7 separate regions of the Homo sapiens genome follow, and regions 2, 3, 4, 5, 6 and 7 are each linked to region 1. The links are contacts of gene promoters, found by promoter capture Hi-C in human tissues and cell types (Jung and others, 2019). All regions are on one chromosome and are shown on one strand. Each heading gives the region's core, a stretch centred on a gene start or on the middle of the fragment in contact. The rest is flanking DNA. Distances are from core to core; before and after follow the strand shown.

What was found. Contacts are between HindIII fragments. The study calls those that stand out against the background at their distance.
Region 2: a fragment that was not itself captured here is called in contact with the fragment with the promoter of EPHA4 in region 1 in 2 of the 25 tissues and cell types used here (heart right ventricle and lymphoblastoid cells).
Region 3: a contact is called between a fragment that was not itself captured here and the fragment with the promoter of EPHA4 in region 1, in 1 of the 25 tissues and cell types used here (lymphoblastoid cells).
Region 4: a fragment that was not itself captured here is called in contact with the fragment with the promoter of EPHA4 in region 1 in 1 of the 25 tissues and cell types used here (lymphoblastoid cells).
Region 5: a fragment that was not itself captured here is called in contact with the fragment with the promoter of EPHA4 in region 1 in 1 of the 25 tissues and cell types used here (dorsolateral prefrontal cortex).
Region 6: a fragment that was not itself captured here is called in contact with the fragment with the promoter of EPHA4 in region 1 in 1 of the 25 tissues and cell types used here (H1 embryonic stem cells).
Region 7: a fragment that was not itself captured here is called in contact with the fragment with the promoter of EPHA4 in region 1 in 1 of the 25 tissues and cell types used here (dorsolateral prefrontal cortex).

What each region holds. Positions count from the first base shown.
Region 1 is chr2:221,570,507-221,573,989 of GRCh38, reverse strand. EPHA4 (EPH receptor A4) reads left to right here and starts at 1,686. Exons shown (of 18, transcript NM_004438.5): 1 at 1,686-1,832. The coding sequence starts at 1,742. RefSeq lists silencers at 221-380, 431-710, 1,311-1,730. The HindIII fragment of the contact is 17,926 bases long and covers 1-3,483 here.
Region 2 is chr2:220,155,660-220,159,142 of GRCh38, reverse strand. The region is part of intron 2 of LOC105373893 (a long non-coding RNA gene); the gene reads right to left. Among named protein-coding and RNA genes, the nearest start is that of MIR4268, 250 kb to the right of the region's middle. The HindIII fragment of the contact is 8,724 bases long and covers 1-3,483 here.
Region 3 is chr2:220,217,082-220,220,564 of GRCh38, reverse strand. The region is part of intron 2 of LOC105373893 (a long non-coding RNA gene); the gene reads right to left. Among named protein-coding and RNA genes, the nearest start is that of MIR4268, 310 kb to the right of the region's middle. The HindIII fragment of the contact is 4,714 bases long and covers 1-3,483 here.
Region 4 is chr2:220,294,167-220,297,649 of GRCh38, reverse strand. All of the region lies in intron 2 of LOC105373893 (a long non-coding RNA gene), which reads right to left. Among named protein-coding and RNA genes, the nearest start is that of MIR4268, 390 kb to the right of the region's middle. The HindIII fragment of the contact is 5,750 bases long and covers 1-3,483 here.
Region 5 is chr2:220,317,534-220,321,016 of GRCh38, reverse strand. All of the region lies in intron 2 of LOC105373893 (a long non-coding RNA gene), which reads right to left. Among named protein-coding and RNA genes, the nearest start is that of MIR4268, 410 kb to the right of the region's middle. The HindIII fragment of the contact is 3,042 bases long and covers 250-3,291 here.
Region 6 is chr2:220,348,067-220,351,549 of GRCh38, reverse strand. The region is part of intron 3 of LOC105373893 (a long non-coding RNA gene); the gene reads right to left. Among named protein-coding and RNA genes, the nearest start is that of MIR4268, 440 kb to the right of the region's middle. The HindIII fragment of the contact is 3,770 bases long and covers 1-3,483 here.
Region 7 is chr2:220,401,271-220,404,753 of GRCh38, reverse strand. All of the region lies in intron 3 of LOC105373893 (a long non-coding RNA gene), which reads right to left. Among named protein-coding and RNA genes, the nearest start is that of MIR4268, 500 kb to the right of the region's middle. The HindIII fragment of the contact is 3,727 bases long and covers 1-3,380 here.

The DNA of each region.
Region 1 (3,483 bases), core at 437-2,936:
AGAGCAGCCACTCAGGCAACCCCCGGAAGGTTTGTTAGGAGTTTCTCCTTGAAACGCTTTCCGATTCCATCTTTTGAAATCCAGCAGGCGAGAGTCACGACAGACTCCAGGACCTCTTGAGCGCTGTCCGCAGCCCCACGGTAGGAGTAGCCCTAGTGCACGAGACTTGGCGGTGGCTGAAAAGCTCGCCCAAACGCACGCACCACCTCTCTGCGGGGTTGCGGATTGCGGGTTGCGGTCTTTGTCCGCTCGCCCTTCCTCCGGGGCCGCACACTCCCGCATCTGGCCGGCAGGTGGCGCGGTTGGCTCACGATGAGCTGCGGCCGGGGCTGGAGAGGCTCCTCCACCTCCCAGCGGCCGCCCGGCCGCCGGGACCCAGGCTCCCCAGGAAAACTCGGCCCTGCTCTGGAGGGAGTCAGAGGAGGGGCGGCCTGGGAAGGGGAAGGGAGGCCTCATTGCTAGGAATCAGTGCCCCTGCCAGCGCCTGGGGAAATGCACCGAGTGGCGTTGGGGACCGGTCCCTGGGACACCGGCTGCGCTGCCTTCGCCGGACCGCTCTTAGGTGGCCGCGTCCACGGCTCGGGCATCGGGAAAAGACCACAGCCCGATGGTGCCAGTGCCCCCGGGGCCGGAGCAGCCGGGCGGGGCTCTGCGGGTCCTCCTGCTCGCCGTCTTCTCCCGGGGCAGGGAGGGCTGCCCCGGCTAGGTCGGAGCGGAGAGTCGCAGCAGCCGCTCCGGGCAGCTTCCCAGTCCCGGTCTGCCTTGTCTGTGCGGCTGCAAGTCCCCGCACCCACACTTAAGCCTTTCACTTCTACCCCACCGCTCCCAGACGGGCTAGGCCCGGTTCCAGGGACTGCCCCCAACCCTGCCCCCGGGAAATCCACAACTGGTTCCCTGCCCAAGGCCATCTCGGGGCGTCCTGGGCCCTGGGCGAGGTCCACGGCGTGTGCAGGGGGACGGGGCCAGCGGGGACTTCCTTACTGCTAGAAAGTCATTCGTTCAGTCTCTGGAGACAGTGACGGAGCCCTGCTGCGGACTGGACGTTGGGGACCAAGTAGGTCCCCGCTCTCCAGGCATCTGGGGAGCCAGGGAAGAAGCGAGTGATAGAGCCACAAAACTCCCCGCAAAGAGTATTTCAGAGGGGGAAGCGCCATAAAGACAAAACAGGGCAAGGTGGCAGAGGGTGGCGGTGGCAGGCGCGAGTCTGCAGCTCAGCCCGGGCGCGCTGGACGCAGACACGTCGACTCTCCTAAAGAAGCAACCGCAGGTCAGCTTAGACTTCTTTTATTTCAATAAAAGAGCGTTTTCCTCCATCTTAAACCGCCCGTGGTGGGAGAAAAGGTTTCCAACCTCTTCTCTGGCTCCCCTCGGTCAATTCCGAGCTTTTCCAAAGTCCCTCCGCCGTCCAGGGGCTCGACCTTCGAGGTAACGTGGGGGATCCCGCTGGCTCCCTCCGGCAGGCGGGGGCGGGGACCGGCCGTGCTCGCCCCCTAGAGCCCCGGGAGACCGCGCGCCCCGTGGAGCCCGGAGGGGGCGGAACCCTGGGGCGGGCCCTGCTCGGTGAAGGCGGGGCTCGGCCGCCCTGTCTGCGCCGCCATTGGCCGCGGGCCCCGGACTGGCGGGCTCACGTCACCGGCCGGGCCCGCCCCCTTGGCAATGTCTTCAGCCCGCTGCTCTCCTAACTTAAGCATTTATTCCACTGGGATAGAAGCGGCAGGAGCAGCGTTGGCACCGGCGAACCATGGCTGGGATTTTCTATTTCGCCCTATTTTCGTGTCTCTTCGGGATTTGCGACGCTGTCACAGGTTCCAGGGTATACCCCGCGAATGAAGGTAAGAGCGGGACGGCCTTTCTGTGGTCGGGGACAGCGAGGGGCCATCGCGGGTGAGGGGTCCTCAGGAGCGCAGGGCCAGGTGGTGCGGGGGGAGCCCAGTGTGAATGGTGCGTCCCGATTCGGGAGAAGGGGGCTGAGGCGAGGGGATCGGCGAAGGGGCAGCGGGGAACCGCCGGACAGCCTGCCCCGAGGCGGTGACCCGTGCACGCGGCGGGTCTGTCCAAGTTTGTAACCAAAGGCCAAAGTTTATCAGCATCCGCCAGAGAGGCCCGCTCGAGGCGCCCTGAGGGGATGCACGGGAGACAACGCCGGGATTTAAAAAAAAAATTACAAGAACCACGTCCTCTCCTGAGCCAGCCCGGGGCGAGGGGAAAACGCAGCCTGGAGCACAGTGAAGGCTTGGTGCTCCCGGATTCTAGCGAAAGCCTTTCGAGCTCTGGTTTCTGCAAAGTTTCCCGAGCCCTGCGCTTCTCGGGACCGGGCTGCGGGGCCTGCTCCGCAGCGCAGCGGTCGTGGCGCCGCTCGTCAGGCGCCAGTGACCTGATTTCTAGCACCCGGAGTCAGACACCTTTCTCCTCGCCAAGCCCAGCGCCCCGAGGGTGCGATTGCGGGCCTGAGGGGCCCGAGCTCTTCGCCCCGCAGACTTGGGGAACCCGCCGGCAAGTTGAACGCAGTCGAGTTTTAGCTTTTCGCCCCAGAATTGCACACAGTTTAGAGCTAACGTGCGGGGTCGACGGGACCCGTCTGGGTGCTCAGTTTTCTGTGCATCCGTTCGGACGTGCTGGGAGGATTGTATGTGCCTGTGTGTCTGTGTCGGGAGGTGGGGCGGGGCGGGGGGGCGGTGATCATTTAGTTTCTGAGAAACCCAGGGAGAGGCGAACTGTGTGTGTGTGTGTGTGTATGTGTGGTGTGTGTGTGCATGTCTGCGTGTGTGTGCATGTCTGCATGTGTGGTGTGTGTGCATGTCTGCGTGTGTGTGCATGTCTGCGTGTGTGTGCCTGTGTGTGTGCGCGCGCGTGCAACTGCGTGTATGTAGGTGCGCGAATGCCTGCGTGGAAGCGGACGCGGAGGATTGTATGTCTGTGCGCAGATGTCCTGAGTGTGTGCGCGTGTGTTCGAGTGTATGCTCGTGCTCTGTTCCAGCGTATGCTGGTGCTCTGGCCTGCGTGCATCTAGTCTCACATCCGTCTCTCATTCTTCTCCTTTCCGGCATCCATCTATCTATCCGTCCGTCCATCCGTCTATCTATCCATCCATGCATCCATCCATCTCTCCGTGCATCCGTCCGTCCGTCCATGCATCCATCCATAATGCATCCATCCATATATCTGTCCGTCCGTCCGTCCATCCATCCCTCCATCCATCCACCCATTCATCTATCCATCCATCCACCCATCCATCCATCCATTCATCTTTCCATCTCTCCAGACATCCGTCCATCCATCCCTGTGTAATCTATCGTTTTCTCTGTTCCGAAGGAGGGAGCCAAAAACCAACTTAGCCTTGGCTGGGCAGCCGGTACCCGGAGCCCTCCAGACGGAGGCTCTGAGAGATTTATACACCTGCCCACAGACATCGCTTGGGAGGAAAGGGGCCCTCTCTCGCCCTCTGGATCTCCCATCTCCTTCCGACGTGGCTTCTGGTGGTTC
Region 2 (3,483 bases), core at 551-3,050, 1.4 Mb after region 1:
GTCTCTCAAGAAAGGTGGCCTCATACCTTGTCTACCCAGTCCCTCTACAGGATTCCTGACCTGTGGTAAGTAAAGAATGTCACTTTCTGACAGGCCCAGGAGCCCCAAGTTATCTTGGGACCTCAAGGTGAGAAATTCACAGGTACTTGCAGGCATAGATAAATTTGTGACTGGGTTTCAAGGCTTTTAAAAAGTACAGTCTGAGATTCCTTATAAAACAAAGTTTCAGCAAACCCAATACTAAAAATAACCTATGTAAAAATATTTAATAATTAGTCTTGCTGTGCTTTATGCAAATAACAGGCCAAGTATAACAAGAATAAAGTTCATTTTGCAAACAAATCAGTCCTATCATGATTTATTCTTAATAAAAATGGGGACTGGAGAGACAAAAAAATACGCTTCAAAAAAACTATAGTACACCTATTATTAGTTGTTTCTCAGTTTTTTTCTGCAGTTTGGACTAAATCCTAAATTCTCTGTGGACTACAAGTCCCCAAACTAATGCTTTCAAATCTTCACTTTTAAAAGTGGGAATTGCACTCCTTATCTTAGTACTCATTATTTACCTTATAATACGTTGTTCTCTTGAAGGCGGTACTAAAACTATAGATGACAATACTAATGCCTTTGTCATGCAAGCCTTGGAATCCCAACCAGGCCTGCGTGAATATGTTCAGTTGCAAAGCAGTTCCACTCCTCTCGCCTTGGGGTCAACACCTACCCCAACTACACCACGGGTCAGCAGGAAGAAGAGTGGTCCTCACCTTTTTCCCATCTCCATTAACCAACACCTTAGGATTAAGGTGTTATAAAACCCAAAGGGAGGGATTGAAACTGCCATTGCAAAATTATAACTGAGACAATGAAAGAGATCTGACCTAACCAGCTCCAACTGGCTTCTAATCTCCAAGCTGTCCTTGTTCCTTCCTGGGCATAGACCAAACTAACTTTGGGAGGAACTTAGTTTATAGTGCATAGTTTGAAACAAAGATGATAACAGCCCTTTCCCTAAACAAACCCCTTGTTTTGCCTGGGAACTAGACTGCCTTTGTAGGACTAACAAATTAGCCACAAGATTCAAATTATGGTTTAGGAGTTATGCAGCTGGAGGCTACAAGATTCTGATTCGGACCCTCCCCAAATTGCTCCTAGGGATAAAATCATTATAGTAAAACCTAAGAGGAGTGCCTTGAGATATTTTGTAGACCGTGCACTTGATGGATCAGCTGGCAACACCCAGATCAATAAACTGGCTCATCCGATCTTGTGCCCCCAACCCAGGAACTGACTCAGCACAATAAGACTGCTTCAACTCCCTATGATTTCATCTCTGACCTGACCAATCAGCACTCGCAGCTCACTGGCTTCCCTGCACCATACCCACCAAGTTGTCCTTAAAAAGTCTGTCCTTAAAAAGCTCAGGGAGACTGATTTGACTAATAATAAAACTCCTGTCTGCCTCAAAAAAAAAATATATATATATAGGTTAAAGATATATCTAAAGATACATCTGAATGTCCCAGTTGGGTAGTACTCCCTAGAAACTAGAACAGTGGCATCTGCTAAGTGAAGCCCAAATTTCTTCTTTTCTTCCAGGCAACAGCTAAGAAACCCCCACTAGGGGTCCGCCTCCAGAATGTGACTAACAACCTCAGATTGCAGTCTTGTTTGGTGAGTGACTGAGGCTGCAGTACCCTTTGCTCAGGTGTGACAGGCACAGCAGACATCTCATGCTCCACATTACGTAAGTGAAGTCGGGCTGAATCCTTAACTAATTGCTAACCTGCCCTGACCACCACCTAAGGCCTTACTGCCCAAATTGCTGATGAGATAACTGTTGGCCAGGTCCACACTGCTAAGATAAATCGTACTCGTGCAAGTAGCCATCGCCCGAACATTTAATTGACCAGAGAATGCTCCAAAAGGAGGAGTTGTGTGTCTCCCACTTGACGAATCCAAGCACAGAAAGAGGCAAGGTCAGGCATGTCTTTATCAGTCAGAAATTGGCACCATCACATCAAGCTGAGAGAGGCAAAAAGGTTGGAGATGGAGTGCCGTGGGAGCCTCTAGCCCAGTACCAATGTACACAGACATACACAGAGGACAATTTATAAGCCAGGCAAGCAATCTCCACCTGTCCACCACTGAATTCACTACTTGCTTCTGAAGTTCTTAAGTTAGGTTTCCTTGACTCTTAGACACAATTCTTCTCTCCTTCCCACCAGAAGGTAACCTCTAAGATTCTGCCCATCCTGGAACTGTTAATAAAAACAAACAGGCTACACCTTCAATCAGACATTCTCATCTACATGCAAATACATCTAAGGTGCCAGATCTATTTCACCTTGTCAACATCTTTTCTCCATGTACCATTAAGCATTCCCTATGCTGCTATCCAGCAATTAAGAGAACCTAGTGTCCACTAATAAGCTCCCAGATACAAAAACATAAGAAAGTTTACCTAGTCTGGGCTTATGGAAATATATCACACTTTATAGCTGAAAGGAGAGACAGTACACTTCTAACATTGCTGGAGAAAAGGGACTTGTTTCCCAGGTGTCCTTGTGGGATTAGTGGAGGGAGGCCTTCTTTACCAGGCAACATCACCGTGGCTCTAATATTCACTCCCTTTAGTTAACTAACCCTTCCTTCACAAGGTAAATAAACCCTTATATTGTCTTAGGAGAATAGAGAGCAAATCGTTCACAAGTAAATGTGAGTGTGATTGGGTTGTTTCTGTCCAATAGAAAAAGGTTAATGGTGACAGAATGGCCATTTGTTGGGTTGGAGGAAAAAAGGCCAGTGTGGAGCACTAGGCTATGCTGGGGAGGAGAAGAGATTTCCAAGTGTGGATTCCAGGCTTTCCAGTGTCCGTGAGGTTGGGCCTGTGTGGACCCACACACTGAAGATGCAAGGGATGAGAGCAGGAGGACAGCAAAGTGGGAGAGGGAAGCAGAGAAGTGTGGTGCCAGGGAGCCATTCACATATATCTGTGCTGGGTTTTCCATACTGGGAATGGTCACAGATGTACCCAGCATCCGTCTAGTGGGGCCTAGAGCACCCAGAGTCCTTGTGGCCATCACTAGCCACAAATAGCTGTCTCCTTTTAACCTCCTTTTACCATCCAAATAGTGCCTTTTTTTATGTGTGCCATGATGTGACAAAGGTTAGAAAGCCCTGCTGTAGCCTAATGGTGTAACGGAGTAAATGGGCTTTTAAAAATATATCTCTCCATTTTTACTATAGTTAGCCACTTGAGGGCCTTTCCTAAAGCCAGTCATCCCAGGTTTCTGCACCATCATTTGTGCCCCTATCTTCTCATCTATGAAATGAGATCATATTAGATGATCTTTAAGGTTTAAGGTTCCTGCTGGCTCAAGATCTCTGCTGTCTTCCTGACCTTCACATTCTGCAAAGCTCTACCACTCCCTTCCATGGTCCCATCCTGGGACTCAGCTTAAATGCCACCTTCTCAGAAAC
Region 3 (3,483 bases), core at 445-2,944, 1.4 Mb after region 1:
CTACTCTGGCTCAGGAGACTGCTGGATTCACGAATTGTTCTTTGCTCAATTGAACTCTGTTAAATTTAATTTGGCTAAGGATTTTAACACATGTAAAAGGTGATGTAGGAGGAGAGGGACAGAAAGAAGGAGAGCAAGAGACTGCTCCCATAAGCAGCATTACCTATGGTTTAGATCACTAGAACTCCTTCTCTTCCCAGGGTTCCATCTTTCCACTTTCAAGGAAAGTGCTTCCTGTAGGATTAGCCTAACTTTCCCATTTAATAGAAGAAAAAAAAACAAAGGAGAAACACCAAACGCATAACAATGTCGACCTTCAAATGGTTAAGCTTAGAAGTCCAGCTTTCTCTCTGTGCTTGTAGCAATCTCTCAATAACTGATTAAAGGATTAACCACCCAATTTGTTCAAAAGAACACAAGATTTATATACTTAGAAGGTCTGGGAAGACATACACCTGAATTAGCATAACAATAACCTACACCAGAGGAATCAGACAGAAAAGTAATTCACATTTATAGTTTGAATTTTAAAACTAACTATAAAGTAGAAAATAGGGTACTTTGCCACTAGCTCCAATAGCATTAAAGAATACGTGTTGGTATTATCAGTATTTCTCAAGCAAACATGTCTAAATAGAAATGAAAATTGTGCATCAATCGAATGCAGGTTAACAACTGACATATCTACACATATTTTATCTGGGGATCTTAAAGGGACTCTGTCTGATTATAACTGGCATGCAAAAGAGGTGAATTCCAGCTGCAACAGAGCAGAGGACATTAAACGCCACCCTATATATCAAAAAAGGTGGGTCAGACTAGAAGAGTGTCATTCTGAGCAGTGAGCTCACCCCAGGGAGGTTGGTGCTAGAGAAACAATATAATTCTAGGCTTTTGTTTTCTAATCTGGCCCCACCCTCTACTGTATAGAACTGTTTACTCAAAAGAACAAGAATCATATTCCCTGTGTCAGTACAAGTGAAACACACCCTTTCTGGGAGGCTTAGATGACTTGGTTCAGGTATGAGAATTGGTTTGTTGCCCTCAAAGGAAGTCACCTCAAACAAGCCAGCACAGGCAGATGTGCCCTGGGAACTGGCAGCTAACTCCAGGCTGATCTGTCTGCTGATGTCTGATAGTCCTCACTGGGAGATGAAAGGGCAGGGGAGAACCCAATACCCTACTTCTGACCTGCCACCAAAATAAAAATCTGCCTTGTGGGGATCGACCTCTAGCTGCTAGTTCTAATCCATAAGTAGGGTTTCATAATGGAAGGGAGAAAAAAAAGAGGGGAATTAGATTTTTAGTATCACAAAGTAAGACTGTACACTAAAAACCATACCTAGGAGCAAGCAAAAGGAAAAGAATCAATGTGAGTCCAGTGTTCAGGTTTGTTAACTGATCTGGTTTGACTGTGTTCCCATCCAAAATCTCATCTTGAATTGTAATAATCCCCACATGTCAAGGGCAGGACCGGGTGGATATAATTGAATCACGGGGGCAATTTCCCCCACACTGTTCTTCTGATAGTGAGTTCTCATGAGATCTGATAGTTTTATAAGGGGCTTCCCCCTTAGCTTAGGTCTCATTCTTCTTCTCCCTGCTGCCATGTGAAGAAGGGTGTGTTCGTTCACTTCCCCTTCTACCACGATTGTAAGTTTCCCAAGGCCTCCCCAGCCATGCTGAACTGTGAGCCAATTAAACCTCTTTCCTTTATAAACTACCCAGCCTTGGGTATGTCTTTATTAGCAGTGTCAGAATGGACTAATACATTGATTTTCCTTGGGGCTAGGAAATATCTTGCCCATCTTCTGAAATTTTCCTTCATCTCTTCAGCCAGGATGGTTATTTAACCAGTCCTTAACTTCATTTTAAATTTCAGCTCCTTAAGATGTCTCCTTCATAGGATTTCATCACCTTCCTCTGACCTTCTGAACCTTCCTGAATGCCCTCACCTCCTTCAGAATCCAAGTTCATATTCTCCACCTACCCACCCCAAACTGGCTGCTCCTGCCTGGGCTTCCTCCTTCTCTCCCTGAATCTATCTCTATGGCTCTGCTTATAGCCTTTCTTCCTCTAAAGGCTGCTTGAGTGGAAGATGGAAGAAGGCTTTCCAGAAATCTCTATCACACTGCTAAAGTAACTCTAACCAACTCTCCTGAGCAGCTGCTCATTTGTCTGACTCTGGGCAGGGCTCTGTTGTTTTACTGTGTCTTCCTTAGTGATTATTGTATGCCTCGTGATGGGGTACCCCACACACACCCCTCCAAGGAAAATCCCATCTCTTCGCTGTCATCTAATCGTCTTCTGTCTTCAGCACTGAGCTCTGCCTGTTAGTTCACTGGAAACCCATAAATACCCTGGCTGTGTGTCTGGGCCTAAATGGGTAGATCAAGGACACACAGAAACAAGCTAATCCAATTAGTATCAAGCCCAACAAACAATCAAACTCATCATCTAATTTCAGCCACTTATCCAATGTGAGGAGAGAACCTAAGTTAACGAGATTTTGTTGTTCTTGGTTTGGTTCTGATGAAGATACATAAACCATGTTGTTATACCACAATACTTCTTGATTTTTTTTTAACTCAGCTTGAATATTCTTTCTGTGCTATTGGACATAGGTCTATAGTCACTGGGACTCCAATTTCTGAAACCAGAATTCAGTGGCACAGTCTGATGAAGGAATTTTTCCTATGTGTAAACTGACATAAAAGGAATCGTTAGAAAAGTATCTCAATGATATAAAATTAAGTACTCTTTATTTTTACACTATCAAATTATCACCTTTTTAGATAAGAATAAATTATATTGAGAATTTGGAAAAACCAAGAACATCTGATCACTAGTAGAGCAAAGAAATTTTTTAGTTCCTATAATTTTTCTACGGTCATCTAGAAAATAAGCCTGGTCAAATGATAAATAAGAATCTGAGATTACTGAGAGATGCATTTGTAGATCTGTTTATTCTATGTCTCTGACCTGAACTCTTTGCTGCAGAAGAAAAATATGAAAGTGTGTGCATCTTTTGGAATAAATCCCTGGCACCCCATCAAAACAAACCCAAAACGAGGTTTGGGACCAGTCAGACAGTGGAGCAGAGCATGCCGAGGGGACAACCAGAATCAAGTTCAGAGCTTCAGTGAATGGGAAGTAAGCAAGAGGGAGGGACTGAAGGGACAAAGACAGCAAAGGTAATTCAGACACAGGCTGTGCCCAGCGAACAACTCTCATTCTCACAAATGCCAGAGCACCACTGGGGGCTTTACAATGTAAGAATAGCCAAAAATGATCTTTTCTGTGTGTATGTGTGCTGATCAAAGTGATTTCCCAGCAGGACTGCTTTAAAAAGCACCACAAAAGTAAAAATTTTCTCAGAACCACCTCCTTTTTGTGCTCCTGAGCAAGCTCAATCTCAAGAGTTAACTTCATGGAAGTACTCGTAATGTCTGTTTATTAACATTTATCTCAGACACAAGCAGA
Region 4 (3,483 bases), core at 309-2,808, 1.3 Mb after region 1:
TCTAAGTGTCCTACACTTTCTCTACCTACTCCCCCTACATTAAAATTTATCTTCAGCTCAGCCTCCTCAAAGAGACAATCAAAACAACATAGTAGTGGTCAAATTTTAGGCACACTGGGATACTGGGAAAGGAGTTGTTTTTTTAAAAGACTCAGAGGACCTTTCCATAGCTCTGAAATTACACCATATAAACCATCTGTTTCTGTCATTATTGAAGATGTCTACTATATTTAAGCCACACTAAAATAAATTCAATTATCTTTGGTAAGTAGAAAATTCAGAGCAATTCATCTGATAAATGTTTATAAGCAGGCATTTTTGAGCCACTCTAGCCCTTGTCCAATATACCACGGACATTCAATTTGACAGCTGTTGCTGAAGAATTTGAATTCCAAATGAGTGGCATGACCCTGTAGCCCTACATTTCTAGAATGCTAAGATTCAAATGAGTATCAAGTATTTGAGTAAAGAGATCCAAGTCTGGTACCTCTGTAGTAATGGTGTGTGTAGCTTTAGGCATGGCACTTGACGTTTCTGGAGCTCAGGGTCTTCCACTAGACTAGAATCCTCTTGAACCCAGAAACCATGTCATTTTTATCTCTGCACTTAGTAAGCACTCCATAAATTTTTGATGAACGAAGGACTCCACGATGAAGAATTATGTTAATTAAACCCCAAAGTCCTTCTCAGTTAGAAGAGCACCTAGCACAGGGCCCGCATGTCATGACCACTCATTAAATATTCAAGGTACACATGAAGACACAATTGAACAGTCTATAATTTCTGATTCTGTTATAAGCAAGATGTTGCCCTAGGCACCGCGGTGTCTCAGTAAGAGCTAAGATATTGTCCCTGCCCTCACAGAACTCAAAATTTAGCCCAATATTAGCTGCAAAGACAAACAATCAGGGAGCAAGCAAAACACCTTAGATTCATGATGTTTTATCTGCCTTGGAACACCAGGATATTTCAAGTTCCACCTCTGACTGGCAATATCACTTTTTATTTCTGCTTCTAATAGACACATAACTAAAGGCAAGGGCTAATGGGATGTCAAAGCAGTGTCATCACAGCCCCTTAATTGATGTGAAGGTGCTTGCATAACTATACAAGGCAAAATGATGTTCTCACTGATGGGAGATATAGAATGTACAATTTGCATCTCATCAGAAAAAAAATATTCATTGGTTTCCTCTACAAAGCACTAATGTTCCTCAATACTGCTGACTGTGCTATTTTGAGAAATAGCCAGCATGCCCTCTGCCGTTAGAGAGTAAAAGGAAATACTGCCTCCCCAGGTGTCAGATTTCCTTTCTATAATGGAAGGATGTGTGGGACAGCATTTCAAACACAGTCACAGAGGAAAAAGGAGGCTGACAAGTAAGATGGATGAATGAGAGGGAAAACATGTGTTGAGAAGGAAGCTGTCAGATGTAGATCCCGTTTGTGCAACAGAAGTGTCCTAATTAAAAGTGCCCATCATAAGAGTCTTTGGGGAGGAAAGAAAAAAAAGGAAGCCCACATCTTTGCAATACTAGAGATCTCAGAGAAGAGGCATGGCTCAGGGGCTCCACTGAAAAGCTGCATTCACATTGGTGGCCGTATCCTGGCATCTTGGATATTAACTGCCTCTATACCTCAACCCAGGAAATCTGCATCCTCACCAAGGAAGGCTTTAAATATAAATAATATCACAAATTTAGTTGACGTAAGGAAGTTGAAAACACTGGGGTGTTACTATGCAATTTGAGGCTCAGTTCTTCCAACTTCTCATCAATAATGATTTTTTTCTTTCCCACAATTGGAGTCCTGAACCTTCTGTGTTTACAGTGACATTCGTCAATTCCCTAGATACACCGGGTGAAATTAAATAAAGGACTGCAGGGAAATTTGTCTATAGAACATGAATCTTTAATGGGCCTTCATCCCTATAAGTCGTATACCAGAAAGAGACTTGCAGAAACAGATCTAGTATGCAGCCACCCATGACGGCTAGGTGGATGCGAACAGATAAATGAGTATCCCTATTCCTCTTTTGCTTTAGTTATAGCAAAGAGGGGCTGGATTCAATAAACTTTGAGGTCTTTCCACTCTGACCTTCAGACTCTGTCATTTTTCTCAAATTTCCCTCCTCCTTTCTAGGAAGTACATAGGGGCCACTGTTAATTTGTGGTGGATTTGTAGTGGGAGGAAAGTGGTGGTAGTTAAGAATGTGGGCTCTTATATTAGACTGCTCAGGTTCAATCTCATCTCTACCACTCACTATCTGTGTGACTTAGGACAAGTTACCTAAACTCTCTGTGTCTCCATTTCCTCATCAATAAAATGGGTCAATAATAGTACCCATACCTCACACAGTTGCTAAGATCTAATGGAAAAATCTATACAAAACAGTTATTATAGTGCCTGTTACATAGTAAACATGCAGGAAGTGTTTGCTGATGTGAGAGAATACAATCACTGCACACATGTGAGAGGATACAATCTCTGCCACACATATTGTCGGAGGCAGACCTGCAGAAGTGGAGTAACTGCAGGAATCAGGAGAGGGATCCTTTGTTACAAAATAAATAAATGCTACTTGCTGATGTCAAAATTTCTTTTACAGTGTAAAAAGAGAACAATAGCACACCAGTTTGAGTTCATATTCTGTTGTAAATAGATGTATTAGTCTGTTCTCATGCTGCTAATAAAGACATAACTGAGACTGGGTAATTTATAAAGAAAAAGATGTTTAATGGACTCACAGTTCCACATGGCTGTGGAGGCCTCACAATCATGGTGGAAGGCGGACAAGGAGCAAAGGCACGTCTTACATGGTGGCAGGCAAGAGAGTGTGTTGCAGAACTGCCCTTTATAAAACCATCAGATCTCATGAGACTCATTCACTATCATGAGAACAGCACAGGAAAAACCCACCCCCAGGATTCAATTACCTCCCACTGGGTCCCACCCACAACATGTGCGGATTATGGGAGCTACAATTCAAGATGAGATTTGGGTGGGGACACAGCTGACCCATATCAATAAGTTTTACTTATTTATTGACTGATTGAAAATAGGCTTATAAAAAAGGTATTTGATGGAAGAAAGAGAAAGAATACAAGGATAAATAAATGATCTAGCAAGGGGAAAATATATGAATGAAAGCAATTTCTGTTACCTTTAATATTGCTTGGTTTCATTGTTAATCTTATGTTTATTTATGGATCAAATGGATTTGTATCTTTATAAGCACCTTCTTCAAAATGATTCAGAAGACTCAATATGGGGAGGCTATATTCAGTCTATATTCATGATTAGGTCATATTCAAAAATTTGGTTTTATTAAAACAGATCTCATCCTGAATCGCAAGAAGGGCCTTCCATTGACAGACACCCTTGTAGATTTTTACATACTCTAAAATATTACTACTGCTAAATACAGGTGAGTCACTCAGAGTGTCCCTGAGGGTTTGACTCCACCAGCAGCCCTGCTATAAA
Region 5 (3,483 bases), core at 521-3,020, 1.3 Mb after region 1:
TATATCATGTGTCTGAGTATTTCTGTTCTAATTACATCTCTAGCAACTGGAAAAATAACCACAGGAGAGTCCATTGACTCACTTGGCCAATGGTGAGACAGACTTGGGCAAAATTTCATTGATTGCTTGGACACCATAAGGCCCTAGTTGACTAGTGGACCGTAGAATTTCTTTGGGTCCTCAGGAATAAGCATAATTTCAGAGCCAGTGTTCACTGATCCCCCATTGTCTGAGTACTTGCCTTTCTCAAGTATTTTCCTCCCTCCTTCCCCGTTTCCATAGTCACTCATAAATGGAAGAGTTAAGCGAATATTTAAAAACAGTAATACAAATCTACTCAACTCTCTTGCTTCTTTTATTTTTCTTCATAGCACTGATTGCTACTCAAATTACATCTTTTTTTTGTTGCTATTTGGTTATCTTTCATCTTCTTTCTTTCTGAGTAAAACATAAGCTCCAGGAGGATGGTATGTCTTATTCATCACTGTTTTTCCCCAGTGCTTGGAACAATGCCTGGACACCAATAAGTATTTAATAAATACTTGTTGAACAAACGAACATTTCTAGAAGGTAGTTTGGCAATATGTATCAAAAGCCTTAAAAATGCATAAAGCATATAGCCTAAACATTAGACTTCTAGAAATTTTAAACTTCTTGAAATTCATCCTTAGAAAACACTTACATTTCAGTAAAATTTAGTATTGAAAGAATTATTCATCACAGCATAAAATTTGTAAAAGTAAAATAACCTAAACATATGATCAGAGATTATTAATCCATTAATTCAACTTATACTTCTTAAGTACCACTAAATACCAGGAACACCTGGCTCGGTGCCCAGTATACTACAGTTAATAAGACAGATATGATCCCTCAAGGAGCCCAGAGAGAAAGATGTCAAGAGACTATTTTGCTTTTTATTTTTCAATGCAGCAAATACACTTATAGATACTCCACTAATAATAGCAATAATAATGAGGATACTTTACATTTGCATAGCACTCCTCGCTTTTCAAAGTAATTCTCCAGCTATTATATTTCTTAAAATTAGGTCATATTAAACTGCACTTGAACTCCATTATTAGATCTTTTCTGAGAAGAGAGTTGAGAGACTGTTGGCCCTTTTACATTAATTATGGACATATAAGATGAATTAATCAAATTCTGCTGTATTTGCTATTAAGGTCAATTGTGTGGGGAAAAAAAGTCACTCTGCAGGGTTTACAGTAGGATGCAGCAGAGAGGATTGTATAAAAAAATCAAAGGTTTTAACAATGATTTTATTTTTAAATAAACCCTGAACCCGTTGTCTGGATGAAGCCTCACTAGTAGTCTGCATGAACACCACCATTTTGGAGATTCAAGTTAACTGGCAGAGATAGTTTACAGTGAAGCTTCAAGGCCTCAAGTTTCAGGGCCCTTTCTTTGCATGGGCTGTGGGAGAGGAGTTTGCAAGGTATTCAATGGCCATATGTTTTTGTAAATTTGACAAAAAGATTTTTACCTCAATCAGTTTAGACTGACATGTGCCTTTTTTCATCAGACTTCTCCTCTTTCACTTTTATCTTTTTTTTCTTTTCTTTTCTTTTCTTTTTTTTTTTGGAGATGGAGTTTTGCTCTTGTCCCCCAGGCTGGATGGAGTGCAGTGGTGAGATCTCGGCTCACTGCAAACTCTGTCTCCCATGGTTCAAGTGATTCTCCTGCCTCAGCCTCCCAAGTAACTGGGATTACAGGCACATGCCACCATGCCCAGGTAATTTTTGTGTTTTTTGTAGAGATGGGGTTTCACCATATTGACCAGGCTGATCTCGAACTCCGGACCTCAAGTGATCCACCTTCCTCAGCCTTCCAAAGTGCTAGGATTATAGGCATAAGCTTCCGTGCCCAGCCCACATTTTTCTTTCATCAGGTGGCACTACAGGGGCCACAGCCAGAGCTTTCCATAGGGTGTGCAGAGCCCCCAAAAATATTTTTGTGAAACCCCTGTCTATATAAACAACTTTATGGAATATTACAAAATTAATGGTCCTGTAGGAGGTACAGGGATGTGTCAACAAAGACTTAGAATAATGAGTAGATGAGAAATTTATGTATACGTCTGTTGTCCTATCAAGACACATGAATATCCTTTGTAGTATCCAGGGACCATCTTTGCCCATTCTGGGCCAGAAGCCATTTCTTTTTGTTCTATACAATCAAATGTGTGGTTTCTGGCAAGCTTCATAACGCCCATCATGAGAAAAAAGTAGCATACTCATTACTCACAATGCATGGCTCAGTGTGTGTGTGGGTATGGGGGTGTGGGTGTGTGGGTATGGGGGTGTGGGTTTGTGGGTGTGTGTGTGTGCACACATGCCTGTGTATGTGTGCACATTGTTTGTTTTGAGACAGCATCTCACTCTGTTGCCCAGGCTAGAGTGCAGTGCCACAATCATAGTTAACTGTAGCTTTGAACTCCTAGGCTCTCTCAGCCTCCCCTATAGCTAGGACCACAGGTGGGGGCCATCATGCTTGGCTAATTTGTGTGTGTGTGTGTGTGTGTGTGTGTGTGTGTGTGTGTGTGTGTAGGCACAAGGTCTCACTGTGTTGCCCAGGTTAGTTTCAAACTCTGGGTCTCAACCAATCCTCCCGCCTCAGCCTCCCAAAGTACTGAGATTACAGGTGTGAGCCATTGCATCCTGCCATGGCTTTTTGAAACCTGTTTGTACTGAAACAATATTGATCCTCTAGCCTCTGCAGTCTCCTAATGCTATTTATTTAATGCTATTTACATGATTACTCATAAGCCACATCACCCATTGTGCCACCTAGGGATACTGGCTTCCAGTGACCCTCGAAGTTGTTACTGTATTTATTTGATTATGAACATAAATTCCAGTCTTACCCAAAGTATACAGGAAAATGTGAACAATGATTTATATGCTGGTCAGGTTAAATTTACCATTTGTTACTTTATAGCCTAAGTACAGAACAACATACCTACCATCTATTTCTCCTCTTAAGTTATTTAGGCCAAATCATTGTGTTTCTAGAATGTGATCGTTTACCGTTTTGACTGTACCACCCGCTTCCACACACTGGGGAGGAGAGAAAGAAGGATCACGGGAGGAGGGGGACGAGTGATCTCATTCCTACAAAGAATGCCCATTAAGCATTAAGCATGGCTTAAGAGTGACCTGGGAGAATATGACATCACCATATCTCACCATACCACCTCCCCAGGCGGCAAAAAACTGCACTAATCGGAAGGGCCCGCTGACATTACAGAGCAATAGTCTTGAGAAACCCTTGGAGGACAGAAGCACAGCCACTCTGGAGGATGCCTGACCGTTGGTGTGGAACCTGCAGAGGAGTTAGAGTGACAGCTCTGGATGCCCATGGCAAGAGTCCTACAAAGTAGACAACTGCTACCATCACTAATTGCCCTCAGGGGCTGTAGATCAGAGGCAGCCCCGCGGTTGGAGCAAGGACTGGCGAGAGCCC
Region 6 (3,483 bases), core at 414-2,913, 1.2 Mb after region 1:
CTTCTTTAAGCCCGAATTATCTCATGTACTAAATTGGGAGAGGGAATAGATTTAGATTCAATGAGTTTAAGAATTCCTCTTTGAACACCTAATATATGTCTGAATTCCACTAGGTATTTCCACATATTATATGTTATTTAAACCTTATTATAATGATCAGCAAACCGAAGGCAAATGATGTTAGCTTGAATAAAGTTACATAGCTACTAATTGGCGTAGAGTTGGTTTGAACACAGGTGTCCTGATTCCACTTCAAGACTTGACCAGATGACCACAAAGTACTCTTCCAGCTCAAAAACTCCATTCCTGTTACCTTTACAGTTTTATCTCTACTTCTCATCCACTCAGAGCCAACTCTTTAGTTAAAGTTGACTTCTGTTTCCCAAGCATGTTTTCCTTTGCTTATGTAGCCCACTTTTCTCTCTTAAAAAAAAAGTCTTATGCCATTGAGCCAGTTAAAGTCCAAAACAATTGAAGTTCAAAGGAATCCATGTCCAAATTGTATTCTTTTACCTTGTTCAGTCAAACAAAATTAAATCCTAGAATTCATCCTTGTATTAGTCTGTTTTCACACTGCTGTAAAGAATGGCCCGAGACTGGGTAATTTATAAACAAAGAAGATTTAATTGACTCACAGTTCTGCCTGGCTTGGGAGGCCTCAGGAAACTTATAATCATGACAGAAGGCAAGGGGAAGCAAAGACTTTCTTCACATGGCAGCAGGAAAGAGAAGAGCAAAGGAGAAACTTCCAGACACTTATAAAACCATCAGATCTCCTGAGAATGCACTCATTATCCTGAGAACAGTGTGGGGGAAATAGCCTCCATGATCCAATCACATCCCTTTCTCGACCCATGGGGATTACAGGTCCCTCCCTCGACACATGGGGATTATAATTTAAGATGAGATTTGGGTGGGGACACAGAGTCAAACCATAGCAACTCTCTTCCAGTTATTCTCTGTCTTCACCAATGGGGTTCCATTAGTTCCCTTTAACAGCAACAGCTTGGGATGTCTCCTTCAGACTTGAATGTGGTTCATTCAAAGCCTTTGAAGTTATATCAATCTAATGCAAAGCTTAGATGAGCTTCATGTTTTAAAGCATCCTAGGAGTTAATAAAGCTTCCAAGAAAATCCACCCACCAAACTTGGAGAGAGCCAATCTCTAACCCCTAAAGGAGCTGCCTGAGACAAAATTATGAGCTGAGAACATAGCATTGCCAAAACCATAACAGTGACTCAGTGGTATCTGAGTGAAGAAGAGCAAGGTGTAAGCATTTTTTTTTTAGCCAAAGTATGGCTATCAGTTGCCTAAAATCCACGATCTATGAAGTTCAGTGAGCAGACACCTACCAATGTGGGTTAATATTTTACGTGTTCCCTGTATCCCACACTTCTTAATTTCTCCCATACACTCTTGCCTTCTGGTACTGCCCTGAGTCTGGCCTCTATCTAATCATAACATCCACCCTCTTTTGACCAGGAATGTTCAGTCTTTGTCATATGGGCCACTTCCATGCCTCTCTTACAGAATTACTTAGCCCAAGGAAATCTGCCTGCCAGAGAAGATATTTGACTTCATTCCCACATTTGTTTCAGCTGAAGTTCCCCCTTCCCCCATGCCCCACAAATGGATCCCTGAACTGAAGCTTTAATGCTATTTTCATGCCCAGGCTCTCAGGGGCCTAGTCCAGACCCTTTGCCCCATGCGTTCTTCAAGACACTGGCTTCCTCTGACTTGAATTCCGTATTTTCTTTGGCATGGATTTTAGGATGTATGCCCACCTATAGAAACTGAATCTCCTTGAAACTCACCCATAAGTTCTTTGAATATTTTTCATTTTTGAACCTGTGGGCTACTTACATGAATTCAGGCTTAGTCTCTCTACAGCTTCCTCCCTGCTCCTGAATGCAGAGTGGGATTCAGAACAGCCAATCTAGCATTGACTGGGTTAACATCCAGGCCTAACATTAGTAAGCTAGAACTTCACCAGTGCTTTGTAAAACCCAGTTGCCTTGACCTTTAAATGCAGCTAGTATTGTTCTACCCACCAATGCCTAAAAGGCCAATGGAGAAGCTCTTGCTCAATAATCACATGTCTCAGCTTCAAGTCTATCAGCCAGACCTTTGCAAGAAACCAAGGTGTGAGCTCTCTGTCACCCCCGTGAACTAGCTGAAGTTTCCCACAGATGTTGTTCTCTCCATAAAAATAGCCTCTTGCCTATGGACAAAACCTCTATAAATTTCCATCATTCACCAAAGACAAAATATCGTGTGGCTGTCTTAAAGATCTCACCCAGGTCACAGTAGTTAAATGTCAGCTACATAACTATAAAAATGCATCTGCAGTTTTTTCAAACCTCCACAAATCACCAAAGTCAGAGGACCCTTCTCTCATACTAATTCCATGACTAAACACTGCGCATCTTGGCCCATCTTGCCACAAGTATAATTTGCTTTCCAAATTTCACTCTTTCATTTTAATTTTTCAATACCTCTGACCAATACCAAAAATACTGGAAGGTTATAAAGTCATTTACCTGAAAACTGCAGTTCCCGTCCTCCTGACAACAACTTAGCAGCAGAAGGTGCCATGGAACAAAGCAATTCAGAGCAAATACCCTGCACAGGGAGGCGGGCTCCCTGGAAAAAGGGCAGAATCAAGCCAGTTGTTCTTCCCAAGTTTCCTAGTCAATATGTCCCCCAACTTCAGCAATGGGAAGTGAGCTACAGGGTAGAGAAAAGGCAGGAGATTTACTCAGGGAAAAAAAAACATCAGGACTAGGGTGAACAATTACCCCTTCACAATGTCCTGTTCATCCCCAGCAGCACCTAACAGAGAGCTTTTCATTTAATGAATGCTCAATATATACATAGTTATTGGCATGAAATTGAGTTGGAAAGAAACCTGGATGTTTTTCCTCTTCTGTTTTACTGTCACTCCAACAGAAGACCTTTGCAGATGTGCAAGAAGCAAACCCACCTGGAATGCACATTAACTCCTAGATCCCCCCCAACTCCCAGCACATGGGGTTAGTGGAAGGATGAGATTTTTTTTTTTTAATGAATCTAAGAGGTTTAATTGGAGAGTCCCTTAAAATTAAGTTCACAATCAGTCATTTCTTACTCTGGCACAGGACATGTTTCCGACCAGCTGTTCTAGCCTGTTTTTCCCTCGTGGGCTAGTAGAAAATACTAAAAAAGCCTTTGCCTTGGAAACTTCACTGTACTTACTGTCCAGGTGGCTGTCCCAAGGCTTAGTCAAGGCCAAGCTTCCTTCATATCTGCATAATTACAGAATGTTAAACCCAGAAAGGATAACACAAACCATCTAGGATAATGCTGTCATTCCTCAGTTTGAAATAGTGAAGTCCAGAGAGAACAAGTGATATTTCCATGCTCCCTCAACAACTGCAATGGCAAAGCCAGGGCTGGAACTGAGGCTTGTGACATTGTGAATGAGAATCTCACTGCTCTGATGT
Region 7 (3,483 bases), core at 268-2,767, 1.2 Mb after region 1:
TTCTCATGATAGCGAGCGAGTTTGCATGAGATCTGATGGTTTTATATAGGGCTTTTCCTCCCTCAGTTCTGCAGTCTCTCACCTGCCACCATGTGAAGAAGGATGTTTACTTCTCCTTCTGCCATGATTGTAAGTTTTCTGAGGCCTCCCTGTCATGCAGAACTGTGAGTCAATTAAACCTCTTTTCATTATAAATTACCCATTTTTGAGTATTTCTTCAGAGCACCATGAAAACAAACTAGTACAATACCCAAAGGAATATAAAGCATTCTACCATAAAGAAACATGCACATGAATGTTCATTGCAGCACTGTTCACAATAGCAAAGACATGGAATCAACCTAAATGCCCATCAATGAAAGACTGGATAAAGAAAATTGGTACATATACACCATGGAATATTATGCAGCCATTAAAAAAAGAACAAGATGATGTATTTCATGGGAACATGGATGGAAGTAGAGGTCATCATCCTTTGCAAAGTAACCCAGGAGCAGAAAACCAAATACCACATATTCTCACTTATAAGTGAGAGCTAAATAACGAGAACATATGAATACTAGAAGGAGAACAACAAACACTGGAACCTATTTGAGGGTTGAGGGTGGGAAGAGAGAGAGGATCAGAAAAAAAATACCTATCAGGTTTTATGCTTATTACCAGAGTAATGAAATTATCTGTGCACTGAATCCCTGTGACACGCAGTTTGCCTATATAACAAACATGCACATGTACTCCTGAACATAAAATAAGTGTTAAAAAAAAGTAAGCAGAAGAGAATAAATAATGAACATCAGAAAAACAATCAATAAAACAGAAAACAGAAAAATGGTAGATAAAAATTAACGAAACCTAAAGCTAATACTTTGGGAAGATCAACAAAATTGATAAACATCTAGCCAAACTAATCGGAAAAAGAAAATAAACATTAACGTGTTATAGTTCCTTTGTGATGCTAAGGAATACCTGAATCTGGCTAATTTATTTAAACAAGAGATTTATTTGTCTCAAGTTTCTGCAGGCTATACAAGCCTGGCAGCAGGATCTGATTGGCTTCTAGTGAAGCCTCATAAAGCTTACAATTATGAAAGAAGGCAAAGGAGGAGCTAGCATATGGTGAGAGAGGGAGCAAGATAGAGAGAACAAGATAGAGAGGGAGGAGTTGCCAGGATCTCGTTGTTGTTGTTGTTGTTGTTGTTGTTGTTGTTGTTTTGAAACAGAGTCTTGCTCTGTCACTCAAGCTGAAGTGCAGTGGCATGATCTTGGCTCACTACAAACTCCGCCTCCTGGTTCAAGCAATTCACCTGTCTCCACCTCCCAAGTAGCTAGAATTACAGGCATGCACCATGCCTGGCTAATTTTTGTATTTTTAGCAGAGACAGGGTTTCACAATGTTGTCCAGGTTGGTCTCAAACTCCTGACCTCAGGTGATCCACCTGCCTTGGCCTCCCAAAATGCTGGGATTACAGGCATGAGACACCATATCTGGCTGGTGCCAGGCTCTTTTAAACAGTCAGATCTCATGTGAACTCAGAGAGTAAGAACTCACTTATGCTATGAGTACAGCACCACACCATTTAAAAGGGATCCACCCCCATGACCCAAACACCTCCCGCTAAGCCCACCTTCAACATTGGAGGTCACATTTCAGCATGAGATTTGGAGGGGATAAAACATCCAAACTATTTCACCCAGCCCTTCAAGTTTCATGTCCTTCTCACATTGCAAAATACAATCACCCCTTCCCAATAGTCCCCCAAAGTCTCAACTTATTCTAGCATCAACTCGAAAGCCCAAAATCTTATCTGAGACTCAAAGCACATTCCATGCACCTATGAGCCTGTAAGATTTTTTTTAAAAAGACATTTACTTCCCAGATACAATGGTGGTACAGGCATTCCTATTCCAAAAGGGAGACGTCAACCAAAAGAGAGGGACCATAGGCTCCATTCAAGTCTGAAATCCAGCAGGGCATTCATTAAATCTTAAAGCTCCAAATAATCGTCTTTGGCTTCATGTCCTGCATCCAGGGCATGCAGGTGCAAGGGGTGGGCTCCTAAGGTTTTGGGCAGCTTTGCAGGGTGCAGCCCCTGTGGCTGCTTTCATGGGTTGGAGTTAAGAACCTGCAGCTTCTTCAGGCTCAGAGTGCAAGCTGTTGGTAGCTCTACCTTTCTGGGATCTGGAGAGCAGCAGCCTCATCCCCATGGTTCAGCTAAGCAGTACTTCAGAGGGGATTCTGTGTGCAGGCTCCAATCCCACATTTCTCCCTCAGCACTGACCTAGTAGAAGCTCTGTGGAAGGTGGGAGGGTTGCTCTACTCCTGTGGCAGGCTTCTGCCTGAGTATACAGGCTTTCCAATACATCTTCTGAAATCAAGGCAGAAGCTGCCAAGCCTCATTCACTCTTACATTCTGCACACCTGCAGGCTTAACACCACATGAAAGCTGCCAAGGCTTACTGTTTGTGCCCTCCAGAGTGGCAGCTCAAGCTGCACCTGGGGTGCTTTGATCTGTAGCTGAAGCTTGAGAGGCAGGGTTTTGGGGAGCAGCCTCCTAAGGCAGCTCAGGGCAGCAGGACCCTGGGCCTGGGCCTGATCCCTGAAACCATTCTATCCTCCTAGGCTTCTGGGCCTGTGATTGGAGGGGCTTCCTGTAAGGTCTCTGAAATGCGTTCAAGGCTTTTTGCCCATTGTCTCGTTTATTAGCCCTTGGCTCGTTTTTAGTCACGCTAATTTATTTAGCAAGTGGTTGCTCCACAGCCCACTTGTATTCCTCTCCCGAAAATTCTGTTTCCTTCTCTACCACATGGCCAAGTTGTAAATTTTCTAAACTTTTCTGCTCTGCTTCCCTTTTAATTATAAGTTCCAACTTTCAGTCATTCCTTTGCTCTCATATCTTATTACAAGCTGTCAGAAGCAACTAGGCCACATCTTGAGTGCTGTGCTACTTTAAAATTTCTTCCACCAGCTATCCTAAGTCATCATTCTTAAGTTCCAACTTACACAGATTCCTAGGACATGAACACAATCCAGCCAAGTTCATTGCTAGGGTGTAACACAAGTGGCCTTTACTCCAGTTCCCAATAACTTCCTCATTTCCATCTAAGACTTCATCAACCTGGACTTTACTGTTCATATTTCCATCAGCATTTTGGTCACAACCATTTAACCAGTCTCTAAGAAGTTCCAAACTTTCTCTCATCTTCTTCTCTTCTGGTGAACTCTCCAAACTCTTGAATTTATGCCTATTACCCAGTTTCAAAGCCATTTTCACATCTTCAGGTATCTTTATAGCGATGCCCTATTCATCAGTGCCAATGTTCTATGTTAGTCCATTTGCATTTCCATAAAATAATCCTTAACACTGAGTAATTTATAAAGGAAAGAGATGTTTGGGGGCTCACTGTTTTGCAGGCTATACAAGAAGCATGGCACTGGCATCTGCTTCTGGTGAGGGTCTCAGTAAGCTCCTTATCATGGCAGAA